Linked DNA regions of Homo sapiens: region 2 is linked to region 1. Evidence: promoter capture Hi-C in human tissues and cell types (Jung and others, 2019). All regions are on one chromosome and are shown on one strand. Each heading gives the region's core, a stretch centred on a gene start or on the middle of the fragment in contact. The rest is flanking DNA. Distances are from core to core; before and after follow the strand shown. Region 1 holds the start of MTMR1 (myotubularin related protein 1). Region 2 overlaps EOLA2-DT (EOLA2 divergent transcript).

Evidence for each region. The method cuts DNA at HindIII sites, captures the fragments that hold promoters and counts their contacts. A contact is called where the count stands out against the background at its distance.
Region 2: a contact is called between a fragment that was not itself captured here and the fragment with the promoter of MTMR1 in region 1, in 2 of the 25 tissues and cell types used here (dorsolateral prefrontal cortex and hippocampus).

The regions. Positions count from the first base shown.
Region 1 is chrX:150,690,470-150,697,227 of GRCh38, forward strand. It overlaps MTMR1 (myotubularin related protein 1), which reads left to right and starts at 2,927. Exons shown (of 16, transcript NM_001306144.3): 1 at 2,927-3,207. The coding sequence starts at 3,062. RefSeq lists silencers at 2,858-2,927, 3,238-3,377 and enhancers at 4,271-4,370, 4,391-4,470. The HindIII fragment of the contact is 13,070 bases long and covers 1-6,758 here.
Region 2 is chrX:149,972,298-149,979,055 of GRCh38, forward strand. The region is part of intron 9 of EOLA2-DT (EOLA2 divergent transcript); the gene reads left to right. Among named protein-coding and RNA genes, the nearest start is that of EOLA2-DT, 37 kb to the left of the region's middle. The HindIII fragment of the contact is 5,103 bases long and covers 610-5,712 here.

The DNA.
Region 1 (6,758 bases), core at 1,677-4,176:
AACTGGAAGTTGCAAATCCCTTAAGGGTTAGCCTTGGAAATTATACAGCATCACCTCTGCTACATTCTATTGGTCAAAGGGGTTACAGGGCCAGTCCACATTCAAGGAGAAGGTAAACAGAATCCACCTCTTGATGTATGAGTGGTAAGATCACCTTGCAAAAGAGTGTGTGGGATGGGGGATATTATTGCAGCAGTCTTTGGAAGCACAATCTATCAAATGGACGTAGATGGGGGACTATACAATAGTATTTCTCCAAGTGCAGCAAGCCCCGCATCAGAATCATGGGAGCATTTGCTGAAAATGCAGACTGGGGCTGATTCTTGCACACTAACATTTGAGATCTGGTGAGCTGCAGAACAAAGCCCAAACTTCTTGGCCTACCACCAGTCCAGATCCTCACTTATCTTGTCTGACTTTATGCTCCAGTAACACTCGATTTCTTGGCATTCTCTTGCACATAATAAGCTATTTAACCTACAGATAGAGTTTGGATGTTTGTGCCGTCCAAATCTCATGTTGAAATGTGAGCCCTAATGTTGGAGTTGGGGCTGAGTAAGGGGTGTCTGGGTTGCAAACTGGATTGTGAACATCCTGAAGGTGGACCCCTCAGGAAAGGCTTTGTGCCCTCCCCGTGGTAATGAGTGAATCCTCGTTCTATGAGTTCATGCAAGAGCTGGTCGTTTGAAAGAGTCTGGTGCCTCCCTCACCTTTCACTTGCTCCTTCTCTCACCATTTGACATGCCTGTTTCCTCTTCGCCTTCCACCATGATTGTAAGCTTGCTGAGGCCCTTACCAGAAGCAGATGCCAGCACAATGCTTCTTGTACGGTCTGCAGAACTGTGAGCCAAAATAAACTTCTTTTCTTTATAAATTACCAGGTCTCTGGTATTCCTTTACAGCAAAGCAAAACAGATTAATATACCTACTAATCCACACCTTTGCCCATAACTGTGCCTTCTGCCTGGAATAACTTGACTCCTTTGCCTCATCAAGGATTTACTCATCTTTAAAGATTCAGTTTTATGTCACCTTTTTGGGGAAGTTTTCCTGACCTCCTCTTCTCCTATGGATTGGGGTAGGTGTTCCACATCCTGTGCAATTGTCCCCATTATAGCACTTGCCAACTTGTAATGTCATTGTTAATTTGTCTGTCCCCTTCACTGGATTGTGAACATCTTAGGCAGGGATATGTCAGATTCATCTCTGTCCTCTAAATCCTAAGTGTACTTAACTGAATTGGAAGTATGACAGTGTCACAGTGAATTCCTCTTTGGCCTAATGTTTCTTAAAGAATATGGTACTTAAAATATGCTTAAAGTTGCACTGTTTTCTTTCTGACAATTCTCAGCACAGCTAAGATGCTTGCAGCTACTTGTAACAAAATACCCAACTAAAAGTGGGTGTCTTAGTGTGCTTAGGCTGCCAAAACAAAATACCATAGACTGGGTGGCTTAAACAACAGAAATTTTCTCACAACTCTGGAGGCTGGAAAGTCCAAGATTAAGTGTCCAGCAGGGACCTAGTAAGGGCTCTGTTCCTGGCTTGCAGATGGCCACCTTCTTGCTGTGTACTCACACGGCCTTTTCTCAGTGTGTGCATGTGAGTGCATGAGATCAAGCTCTCTGGTGACCCTTCTTAAAAAGCACCAGTTCCATCAGACTAGAGCTTGGCCCTCATGACCTAATTGCCTCTCAAAGACCCCATCTCCAAATACCATCACACAGGGAATTAGGGCTTCAACATATGGACTTCAGGGGGATGAAAACATTCAGTCCATAACAGTGGGTTAACCATTTGATTTAATAATTTTAGAAAGCCAGCAACCTGCAGTCGGTGATTCTCCAGTGTGAGATAGGAGCTATTATTGTCTGGGGATCTTCCTTTCCTTCCTCCTAGCCCTCCTCACTCTGTCATCTTCTTACCCCAGGCTCACCTCCTCTTGTGCGTAAGATGGCTGTCGGGGCTTCAGGCATCATATCCTCAAAGTTCAGTTTGAAGTTATTAAGCTGGTGGGGCAGGATGGGTCTGGGATGGGCATGAGTAACTCCCTGTCTGCAGATCTGCCTTTTAACAGTGAGCAAATTGTTCCCTTTATATCTTCTTTTCCAGACCTGGGTCGCAGGCCTCCTGTCTACACCCAGAGCAATCACAGGCAAAGAGGCTTAATCACGAGCCACACACCCACTCCCAACTTAATCAGGGGTGAGGTGAGAGGGGATGAGCTGTTGGATATTCGAACCCAAACAAAATGAGCAAGGAAATAAATCTAGCCCAGAAAGCAAATGTCCTAAATGCCTCACCAAGATATTGGCTTGATGTTCATAGCAGTGATTTTTTAATCAACAGAAGTTAAATGTTACTCTTAACATAAACCATGGGCGGAAGCTCCGAGGGCGGCATCAGAACACTTGGTTGCCCTACAGATGGCAAGGGGGTGGGTTTGTGGCGGGGCGGCGGGGTGCGTATGGAGGGGGAGAGTGGAGGGAAGAATGGGGTGGGGAGGAATTGCTAAAATGCACGGAATTGCTCCTGCTTCAAGATGTCAAGACCGAGGGAGCTTGAGCTGTTCTATACCTTTTCCGGGAAGGACAACTGAGGTGGGAAATCATTTTTGATACTTGAATGTCTTCAAACTTCTTTTTACACCCCACGTCTCTGCAGTCAACCCGGTGTGACTATAGAGTGAAGCACGCTACGCATAATCCGTTTGGGGATTCCGAACCCCAGTGGCTCTGTACGCACCCAGGTCGCTGGAGCAGGAGGTCCCAGATCCCCGCTGTAAGGCTCCGTGGGCGAGCGCCCAGGTGGGGCTGGGCGAGGTGGGGGTTCCCGGCGCCGGCCCCGCGCGCCGCCCTCCCCGCCCCCGCTCCCGCCCCCCGACCCCCGCGCGCGCGGCCTTGTGGGTAACGCGGGGCCGCCAGGTGACAGCTAATGGCGGCGGCCGCCTGAGGCGGGCGGGCGGTATAGAGCGGGCGGCAGGAGGCAAGCAGCGAAACCTTCCCGGCCGCCGCTCCCGTCCCGACGGCGGCTTCCCCAAGGCGGCAGGACTCGGCGCGCCATGGACAGGCCGGCGGCGGCGGCGGCGGCGGGCTGCGAGGGCGGCGGGGGCCCGAACCCGGGGCCGGCGGGCGGCAGGAGGCCTCCTCGGGCCGCGGGGGGCGCCACCGCCGGCTCCCGGCAGCCCAGCGTGGAGACCCTGGACAGGTAAGCGGGGCCCGGGCTGCCCCGGCCTCCCGCGCCCCGACTCCCGAGGGCCCCGCGCGAGGCCAGCCCGCCCCCTCCCCGCGCGCTGCGCAGGGCCTGGCGGTGGCGGGGTGGGCGGCCCCTCTTCATCCCCTCTGGGCCCTCCTCCCCCCCACCCCCGGAAACCTCAGCGCCCCATCCGGGGACTGCTGCCCTCGGACCTGCTGCGGGCCGCGCACCTGGCTCACTTCCGCCCCGAGAGCCCCAGCTCCTGGAACCCCGGGAGGGGCTTCGCAGCTGTCAAACCACTTCCGGCGCCGCCACCTGCTGCCCTTGGCGATCGCTTGGCTGTCCCTGCCCAGGCCACCAATCCTCTTGGGAGGGAGATCCCACCCGGGCTCTCCTCTTCTAGCATCACCTTGCCTCGTGTGGTTTTAAGACCCCAATTCTGCTGTGGCTGCTTAGGGTCTTTGATGGGGGGTTGGGAGTGAGGACGGGGAGATGGGACCCCGCGGGCGTGGGAGCTGGTGCAGATCGAGGCAAAAATCTGAGATGGAAAACGTCCAAACTGCTCAGGAGGCAAGAAAACAGAACCATTTACTTTCAGTTCTTCACACTTTGAGGGAACCAGTTTATTGTTTTCATGAACACACAAGCAAGCCTACTGCTTCTGAGGCAGCTGCAGAACTAAGAGAAATCAGTTAGAAACATAAAGTGACCGTGTCGAACTGGGAGGGGCCACCGCCTCCTCCGACGACAAGAGATGGCCTATCGTGTAACCCGGAACATCCAGTTTTCCCACAACTTGGCCATTTCCCTGACACCAGAGTGCACTCAGGCAGCATGCACTGTTGGAATGTAGCTCAGTCAGTTTTACATGCCCATTCCTGCCTGTCTTGGTCATCCCATTGTGCCAAACTTTTGGGAGTTTCCAAAAGCACAGAAACAAGAAACATTCCCTTCACTTTTGTTTCTACCTCAGTGTAATTACAATATATTTTAATAAATTAATCACCCAAGTGGTTAGTGTCACTGAAAACCAGTCACAGCTAAGACAGCACTTGAAATGGTGAGGACTTCACTCATCTGCAAATATTCAACCACACACGAGGTCTGGGCGATTCAGAGAATAGCACAACACGGCTTTTGCTGCCTTACCATTTTGCTAGACTTACCATCTAGTGGAGAATACAAACCAACCAACAGTGGAAATCGAATGTGATAAATGAGATAGGTGGTAGAGGCGAACACAGAAGTACTCAGGATGGGCATGCATCAGAATCATTTAAGAAGCCAAAGGAGACCAGAATGTGTCACCCCCAAATATGCCTCATCTTCTGGTTTCCTTCAGAGATTTTGATGATCAGGGAAAGCCTGAGAAAGCTGACATTTGAGTAATGCCCCCAAAGAGGCGAGGGATCCAGCCATACAGATACCTGGGGGTGATAGTATTCTAGTCAGAGGCCTGTGCAAAGCCCCTGAGGTGAATGTGAGCCAAGTGTTCCTAGATCAGCGAGGAGACTAGGTGTCACTAGCAGGGAGGGAGCTAGGGAGAGACAAGTAAGGGATGACGTTAGAGAAGTCACAGAGCCAGATGGTGGAGAGCCTCAGAGGCCATGGGGAGCCACTGGGGACTTTGTGCAGAGGAGTGACATCATCTGTTGTAGATTTCAGTAGGCTCTCCATGGTGCTATGTGGACAATAGAGTGAAAGGGGAAGGAGCTGAAGCAGAGACTGTCAGTAGGAGGCTATTGTAGTAAGCCAAGTGAGATGGTGGTCCAGAGTGGAGCGGAGGAGGGGAGAAGTGGTCAGATACTACATGTAATTTGAAGACCTGCAGGGTAGAGCCAATGGGGTTTGCTGAAGATTGGTTGGTTGGTATGAGAGAAGAATCTGGGAGAATTCCAAAATTTTAGCTTGTGGGAAAATTGTGTTGCTGAGATGGAGAAGTCTTTCTAAGGTGGAGCAGGGTTAGAAAATAGCAGGCTCTTCGCTCTGGACATATCAATTTTGAGATGCCAATTATATGTCCCAGAATAGATGTCAAAGATATAGTTGATCTATCTGAGCCTGGAGTTCAGGGTTGTCTGGGCTGGAGATTCAAACTGGGGAGTCATGGGCTTATAGATGAGGCTTAAATTCATGAGGCAGGTGGAGTTCACAGAAGAATGATGGAGGTCTGGAAAAGGGAATTGGGCTAGGAATAGGGCTGGGTGGATTTTCAAGATGCTTACCAGGTAAGAGTGACCCGACATGGTGAGCATTCAGATGTGAGGGGGGAGTGCCGGGTGGACTCCAAGGCAAACCTCAGCTTTCTAGCGTGTGGGGGCCGGATAACTGGCTGTGCTGCGCCCTGAGTTAGGAAACACAGGAGCAGAGTAGGTTGCGGGGCTGAGCGGCTGATGCTGGTTTAGACAGGTTGAATTGGCAGGGTCTCTGGGCCAGACTAGTGGACAGGTCTTGTAGGAACATCAGCATTGAGATCAGGAGAGTCCAGGTTGGAGAAACAGAGCTGGGAGCCTCCAGCCTGTAAGTAGTTATTGACACCAGGAGTATAGAGGGCAATTGCACAGACTACAGAGAAGGGATGGGGGAGGAATCATGGCCTCCTTTCTCAGTTCTGTCAGCTCAACAAGCTCAGATTCACACTTTTCTTTGAAGAGTGACCTCTAGAATGGAACCTGGCTCTATGGGTGGGACTTGGCCATGTCCCTGGGACTATGGGGCCTTCACTTCTCTTCTGAATACTGTAATTAATAATGAGGAAGCTGTGGTCCTGTAAGAGGATGTGTCTTGCCAAAGATCATGGAGTTAGCTGGTGACAGAAGCAGGACTCATGTCCAGGCCTCCTGTCTGCTAACCCACTGTGCTTCACTGTGTGTAACTACATTGGCCAGGATGCTTCTGGTTGCAGGTGACAGAAACCACAGTTCAATCTAGCTTAAGGCAAATGAGATGCCCTGGCTCACAGAACTGCTCCAGACAGGAGGAGAGATGGCCACAGGCACAGTTGAGGTCAGGATTGCAAACAGTGTTGTCGGGACTCCCCATCTCTCTCTCCCTCTCTCTTTTATTTTCCCTCACTTTTTAATCGCTGTGAGTTCCTTAAGATGGTAGGGGTGGGGTGGGGTGGGGAGTGGCCTCCAGCAGCTCTGGATACAGATCCATGTATTTCAGGATCCAAGGGGAAAAGTCTGGGATTGGCTGGTCCTAGGTAACTCACCTACAAGTGGGAGCAGGTGGAGGAAGGGGTCAACCTTCTTCTCCGCTTTCCCCCACAGAAGCCTGTGTTGTGGGGAAGGGCAGTTCCCAAAGTAAAGAGGAAGGTCTTTATCAGAAGAAGGGGGAAGGCATGCCGGGCAGGCAGGTGGTAATAGCAGGTCACACTCATGCTCAGCAGTTGGGTTTCTGCAGTTTCTTCCTGTATTTGCAACTGGTGGGTGCTGACAGAAAAAGGCATTATGACAAGAAAAGTATGATATACGTGGGAATGAAAGTGACTTAACCTTTAAAAAGGAAACAAATCTCTCCCTTTTCTCTCCTTCTCCCCCTCAGGTCGAAATTGTGGTATA
Region 2 (6,758 bases), core at 1,911-4,410, 720 kb before region 1:
AGATATGGTGGACTGTATAAGGCAGTAGCAGTGAGGACAGAGAGGAAGAGGCAGATGCAAAATGGTGAAACTCTTACGATGTTGTGGGGAGGATTGGTGAGGGAGAGAAAAGTGTCTAAGGTAATTCTCCAGGTTTCTGGCATGGCTGTCTGAGTAGATGGTGGTATTTTTGACCAAGTTCAGGAATGAACAGTGGAGATAGAATGTACAAAAAAATTGGATAAATTCAGCTTGGAACCTGCTGAATTTGAGGTACTGTGGGACTTCCAGAGGGGAGAGCAGCTATTTTGTTCTGGAACTCAGGATGTGTCTAGGCTGGAAATACAGGTCAAGGCCTCTATGTCTGGGCAGTTTAAACCCAAGTGAATAGTAAGACATCTCTCAGAGAGAATGTGTGGAGAGTGCATCTTCAATAATTCTACCCCCTTTCGACTTCAAAGGCTGTTCCCATGGGGAAGCAGAAGCAGCGTATTTCTCTCTCTCTCTTTTTAATGTTTGAGGCAACAAGGGATACTGAAAATGCTATAAAAGGTGGAGTTAGAAAACCTGAGTTCAAGCCCTGCTTCTGACACTTCACCACTCTGCAACCGTCAGTAGTTCCTGAGCCTCTCTTAGCCTCCAGGTCTTCATCTGTGAAACAAGGGTAGTAGGAATAACTGCTTCACAGGATTATTAAGATAGTCCAATGAGAATGTGTATGTGGAAAGTGCTGTGTAAAGAACCATAGAAACATCATTTTTGTTGTTGTTGTTGTTTGTTTGTTTGTTTTGTTTTTTTCCCCTAGAAACTTGGACCAATATGTAGGAATTACGGGGAGACAGATTTGGTCCAATATAAGGAAAGACTAATACTTTGACTGTTGGATGATGGGAAGAGCTTTGGGAGATGGGAAGCTCTGAGGCTCTGGATATCCTTAAGCAAAAGCCAGGTTTCTGGGCATATGCTGAGCGTTTTGTTGTCAGGGGTTGGGTCATCCTGCATGACCTCTGAGTTACCTTTCAGGCTCAGATAGAATTTGAGTTACTAGAACACTTATCTACCTATTTTCTGAAATTTTCTACACTAAGTAGATTTTTTAAATTGTAAAAGCAATACAAGCGCATGGTCTTTCCCTTTGACTCTCTTAAAGTACTGGGCATTTTGGATCCTAAGTGGAGACTTGGTTTATATACCCTGAATAATGGGGCAAACTGCCTCATGTCTTACTGCATGAGGCATTTATGGACAGACATTTTCTTAATGTTCTTTAATGAGATCTCTTTAAAATAATAATTTTTTTCTTATTTTCAAGCAGAAATGATATTATAAAAAGCTAACAAAATATTGCCAAGTAGAGGTCTTGATCGAGTATACTCCAATGAGTAGGTAAAGGTCATTTGAAATCAGCACACTAATTATTTATATGCAAATGAATTTGTTAGAGAGCTTGGAAAGAGTTGTTCTCTGAACTGGGTTAAACATCCCCTAAGAGCTCATGTTTATACTCTTAATTTACTCAGAAACCTGTTGTTGCTCTTTCTTTTTTTTTTTTTAATTATACTTTAAGTTTTAGGGTACATGTGCACATTGTGCAGGTTAGTTACATATGTATACATGTGCCATGCTGGTGCGCTGCACCCACTAACTCGTCATCTAGCATTAGGTATATCTCCCAATGCTATCCCTCCCCCCTCCCCCAACCCCACCACAGTCCCCAGAGTGTGATATTCCCCTTCCTGTGTCCATGTGATCTCATTGTTCAATTCCCACCTATGAGTGAGAATATGCGGTGTTTGGTTTTTTGTTCTTGCGATAGTTTACTGAGAATGATGGTTTCCAATTTCATCCATGTCCCTACAAAGGACATGAACTCATCATTTCTTATGGCTGCATAGTATTCCATGGTGTATATGTGCCACATTTTCTTAATCCAGTCTATCATTGTTGGACATTTGGGTTGGTTCCAAGTCTTTGCTATTGTGAATAATGCCTCAATAAACATACGTGTGCATGTGTCTTTATAGCAGCATGATTTATAGTCATTTGGGTATATACCCAGTAATGGGATGGCTGGGTCAAATGGTAGACATTTATGCAGCCAAAAAACACATGAAAAAATGCTCATCATCACTGGCCATCAGAGAAATGCAAATCAAAACCACTATGAGATATCATCTCACACCAGTTAGAATGGCAATCATTAAAAAGTCAGGAAACAACAGGTGCTGGAGAGGATGTGGAGAAATAGGAACACTTTTACACTGTTGGTGGGACTGTAAACTAGTTCAACCATTGTGGAAGTCAGTGTGGCGATTCCTCAGGGATCTAGAACTAGAAATACCATTTGACCTAGCTCTTTCTTTAATTGATAGAGGAAAGGTGAAATATGCCAGCCATGACTGAGTTATCACAAATTTAGAAATGGCATGAATTGAATTTATACTTTCCTGTGTTTATTTTATTGCCAATCACTGATGTGACACACATTTGCTAAACAAGTTCTAATTTTCTGGGTAACTTTCCCTACAGAAAGCTTATTTCGCTAAATGAAAGATCTCTACTCATGCCATTTAATGAGGAATTATCTTTATGATTGTTGAGGTGTCTTCCTGGCTCTTTGAAAAAAATCACAAAAACAATAGCCCCAAATAATAGTGATTTTATACCTAGAAAATATTCTACAAGGAATAAGTTGCTGTAAACCATATAGAGGTGAACAATTTTGAAAAGTCAAGAATTTAGGAAAGTACATTCAGTCTTAATTATGGTAGAATAAAATTTCATCTTCCTGATGCTTCCATAGGCCCTTCAAGATGTTTGCAAAGCCCTTGGTCAGCTTTTGATTATTTTTTCATTGTACTGTATCTATGAAAAAGGTTGCCATTGGGAAAGCATAAGTAGGTTGTGTTTTGCAATTCCTTCTTGTGGAAGGAAATTGATAGAACCTTCTAGTTGATTTTTTGAAAAAGTAAAGATGTTTAAATACTCTTGCCTTCCCTACCTTACTCCACACTTCTGGTTCTCATCTACAAGAACTAGTGCACCAAGGGAGAGAGTACTCCAGCTGTGGCGTCCTGGACTTTGAATCCTGGGATGAGGGGGCAGGTAGGGTAGAGGATTCAAGAACAGAGGAATTATGGAGGGATGGAAGCTGGGAGGGAGGAAGAAAGAGTAAGAATCTAAAAATGAACCAAGGGAGGAGCCAAAGAGTGTTGGTCTTGAGCCAGATCACAGGCAGTTGGGTCAGGGTTAGAGGTAACAGTTGTAAGGAACAAGTCTAAGCCAGCCAAACCCTGGTTGAGCCATGGTGTCCGACCTTGTGGGGGACCCCTCAGTATCTTTCTTAATGCAACACATTGTTAAACTTTGGTCTGACCCCAGGGAGAGGCTGAGCAGCTCAGTAAGCAGGCCATTCTTTAAAAGCCTGAGTGTCTATTCACTGACAACCCTGTGGATCTTTCTTTGTATCAGTAAATTACCCTATACAACTCATGTCCAGACATTTTATAGCAGTCTCACTTTTGGTGGGGGTGATATAGTGTGCTGGGAAGAGCTCTCCATGGAGATTTGTGGGAGAGGGGGCAAGAGGCTTGGGTTTTAGCCAGTGCTCTGCCACTAATTGGCCATGAAACATTAGGCAAGTCATCTAAATGTTTGGTGCCTCAGTTTCCCCATATATACAATGAGGATCAAGGAGGCACAGATGTATAGTTCATCTATCAGTTGTGAGTTCTAAAGCATAGAAAAGAATTCTGTGGCTTTGGCATTTGGCTTTTTTGACTTGAGAAAAATAAATATACCCTAAGCACTACATTTGAGTTGAACCTATGAAAACCCTGAGAGTCAAAACTAAACTATAAATAGTAAAATCCTTTCCCCAGCTTCTTCGTTAGAGCCAGGAGTGTTGAAGACAGTCAACTTTTTAGCATTTGTGGAAATGGCAGGAAGCAAATTGAATAGGGTTGAACAGTTGTGCTCCTTGACCTCTGAGATGCAATATCTTACATACCAGTACTAAACCAGAGGTTCACTGTGTTCCAGGGACTCTGATGGAGTTGATAGACCCCCTAGTGACGCACATACCACCAGCAAGCTGGGTGACCTTCCTCCTTTGCCAAAATCACACATGGCTCATTTGCTGAGGGCTACAGTAAAATTAAGTGCTTCTTCTTGCTTCTTCTGAACTGGCACCCTGTTGGTCCTGCCAGTGTGAGACAAAAGATGTAAGGGCTACCAGTGGACTTTAAAATGTTAATTTTAAAAATAGCCCTTAATTATTAAAAGTAGCCCTAATTATAGCTTACTATAGGCAGGCCACACGTTTCTGAATAGTTTAACAAATGAGGAAATAAGTGAAGAGTTGATAAGTGCTGGTAGATTCATTTGCATGCTTTCCTACACCCAAATGGTAATACTGCAACACCACAGTCTTCAGCCAAATTACGAGTACAGCAAATTAACACAATTTGTTAATTTCCTTTTTAATTACACTACGAACAGGAGTATTTCTGTATTTTGGCTTTTTTTTGACATAGAGACTTCATCTTAAAAGCAGAAAGACTTTAATATAGCTAAATCTATATCTATAACAAATAAAGCTTGTTTCATTTTCCTTACCCAGCTGGCTAAGATTTATACATTAATTATTCAACCGATGCATCTTAAACATCCTAGTTAAAATACACACTGTTGGCCAGAAATTGTTAAACCTCCAGCATACTTTTGTTTGCCTGTAAGGAATAAATACTTAGAACTGTAAATGGGTAAACTTAATCTTTCCATGTGGTGAGGTCAACAGAACTCATGGTGAACATACAAAGAATAGGGGACTAATTATTATTGAGATTCAGGTAAGTGATTTCTTAGGCATTTTAGCTGTCATGCTGTGGAATAATTGTAAACTCACCAGGAAGGAATTGCAAAACACAACCTACTTATCCTTTCCCCAGTGGCTATATAGAATTTTTTTCTGTCCTGCAGTTTGTGCCAACTCTAATCATTAAAAGGAATGTTATTTTAAGTATTGCTTCCTCAATAACAGTGTTTGACAGAAACTCTACAGAATGGTGGCTTTGCCCAGAGTGTGGCTTCAGTATGCTAGTGTGATTTAGGCAATCAGAGCTATTGGTAATGGAATGCAGATCTCTGTAGCAATTTTATTTAAAGTTTTGCCTAGTTAATATTATATCCAACTAATGTAACCATCTGTATCCGGCCCCATCAGTGACAATATAAAACTGTTAAACACCATTTCATAGGCATTAAGTGCTTTGGCTTTGGTATAATTTTATGATCATGTCTTATTCTTATTGTAGTACTTCATTACTATCTTTTTTTTTTTTTTTTTTTTTTGAGACGGAGTCTCATTCTGTAGCCCAGGCTGGAGTGCTGTGGTGCAATCTCAGCTCACTGCAACCTCCACCTCCCAGGTCCTGGTTCGAGCAATTCTCCTGCCTCAGCCTCCCGAGTAGCTGGGATTACAGACACACACCACCATGCCCAGCTAATTTTTGTATTTTTAGTAGAGACGGGGTTTCACCATGTTGACCAGACTGGTCTTGAACTCCTGACCTTGTGATCCGCCCGCCTCGGCCTTCCAAAGTGCTGGGATTACAGGTGTGAGCCGCCGCGCCCAGCCACTATCATTTAAATGTCAGTAACAGCAGCAGCAAGTATTCTAGGCATAGCACAGAGACCAAGGTAATGGGTCTCCCAGCCTTGTGACTAAATTCTTCCTGCCTCTAGGTCTTCACGTAGTCTGTTGCCTTGTCCAGGAATGCCCTTCAAACCTTGGTTTAAAGGCCTTTTCAGATAAGTCTCTCTTTTTCCCCCTAGTATTCTTGATCACTGTACCTATTTGTCTTCTCCATAGTATTTATCACAATTTAAAATTATACTTGTATTTTTTAAAAAAACTTGTCTCCCCCACTAGAATGTAAGCTATACAAGGACAGAGACCATGCCTATATTTTATTTATTATTTTACAAAATTTTTATTTTTTAATTGTAAATTAACAAATTGTAGTTACATATATTTATGGGGTACAAAGTGATGTTATGATTTATGAAGACAATGTGGAATGATTAAATCAAGCTAATTAACATATCCACCACCTCAAATATTAACCCATATATCCTTTTGCGTAGCAAAGTAAGTAGGGACTGTAAATATTTTTTGGGAGGGACTTTAAGTAGTTTAATGAATAAATGAGGCAATGTGGTATAATTATAAGGAGGCAGAGGCCCTATATGCTGAGGACTTCCAAGTTAATCTTGTGGTTACATTTGACTTGCCTAGGCCTGTGTGACTTTATACCAGTATAACCAAAGGCTTGCTGGACATTTCTACCCGATGACCCCAGACATCTCACAGTCAACATTCCAACCTATAATCTGTCTTCTTGCCTCTCAAATCTTTTTTCTCCTCAGTCATAACTTGGATAGTGGCACCATCATGTATGCCATCTCCCCCTCCCTCCTCTGGAACATCAGTCAGCGCACAGTCCTGTCAGTTTGTTCTCCTAAATGTCTCTCGCGTCTGTCTTTTTCTTTCTACCTCCATTGATGTGGCCTTGGTTCAGGTCCTCATTATCTTATCTCTATCTAGACTACTGCAAATGCTTCTTCCTCCTCCCTGACTCCCTGATCTTATTCCCTAAAGACCACCTCCCTCCTTCCAAACAGGCAAATGCTGTTCTCTCTCTCTTTCTGGATCCAGAAGTCAGTAAGGGCTGCCAGTGTGCAGAAGTAGCTGGAACCTTACTAACATATATTCAAAG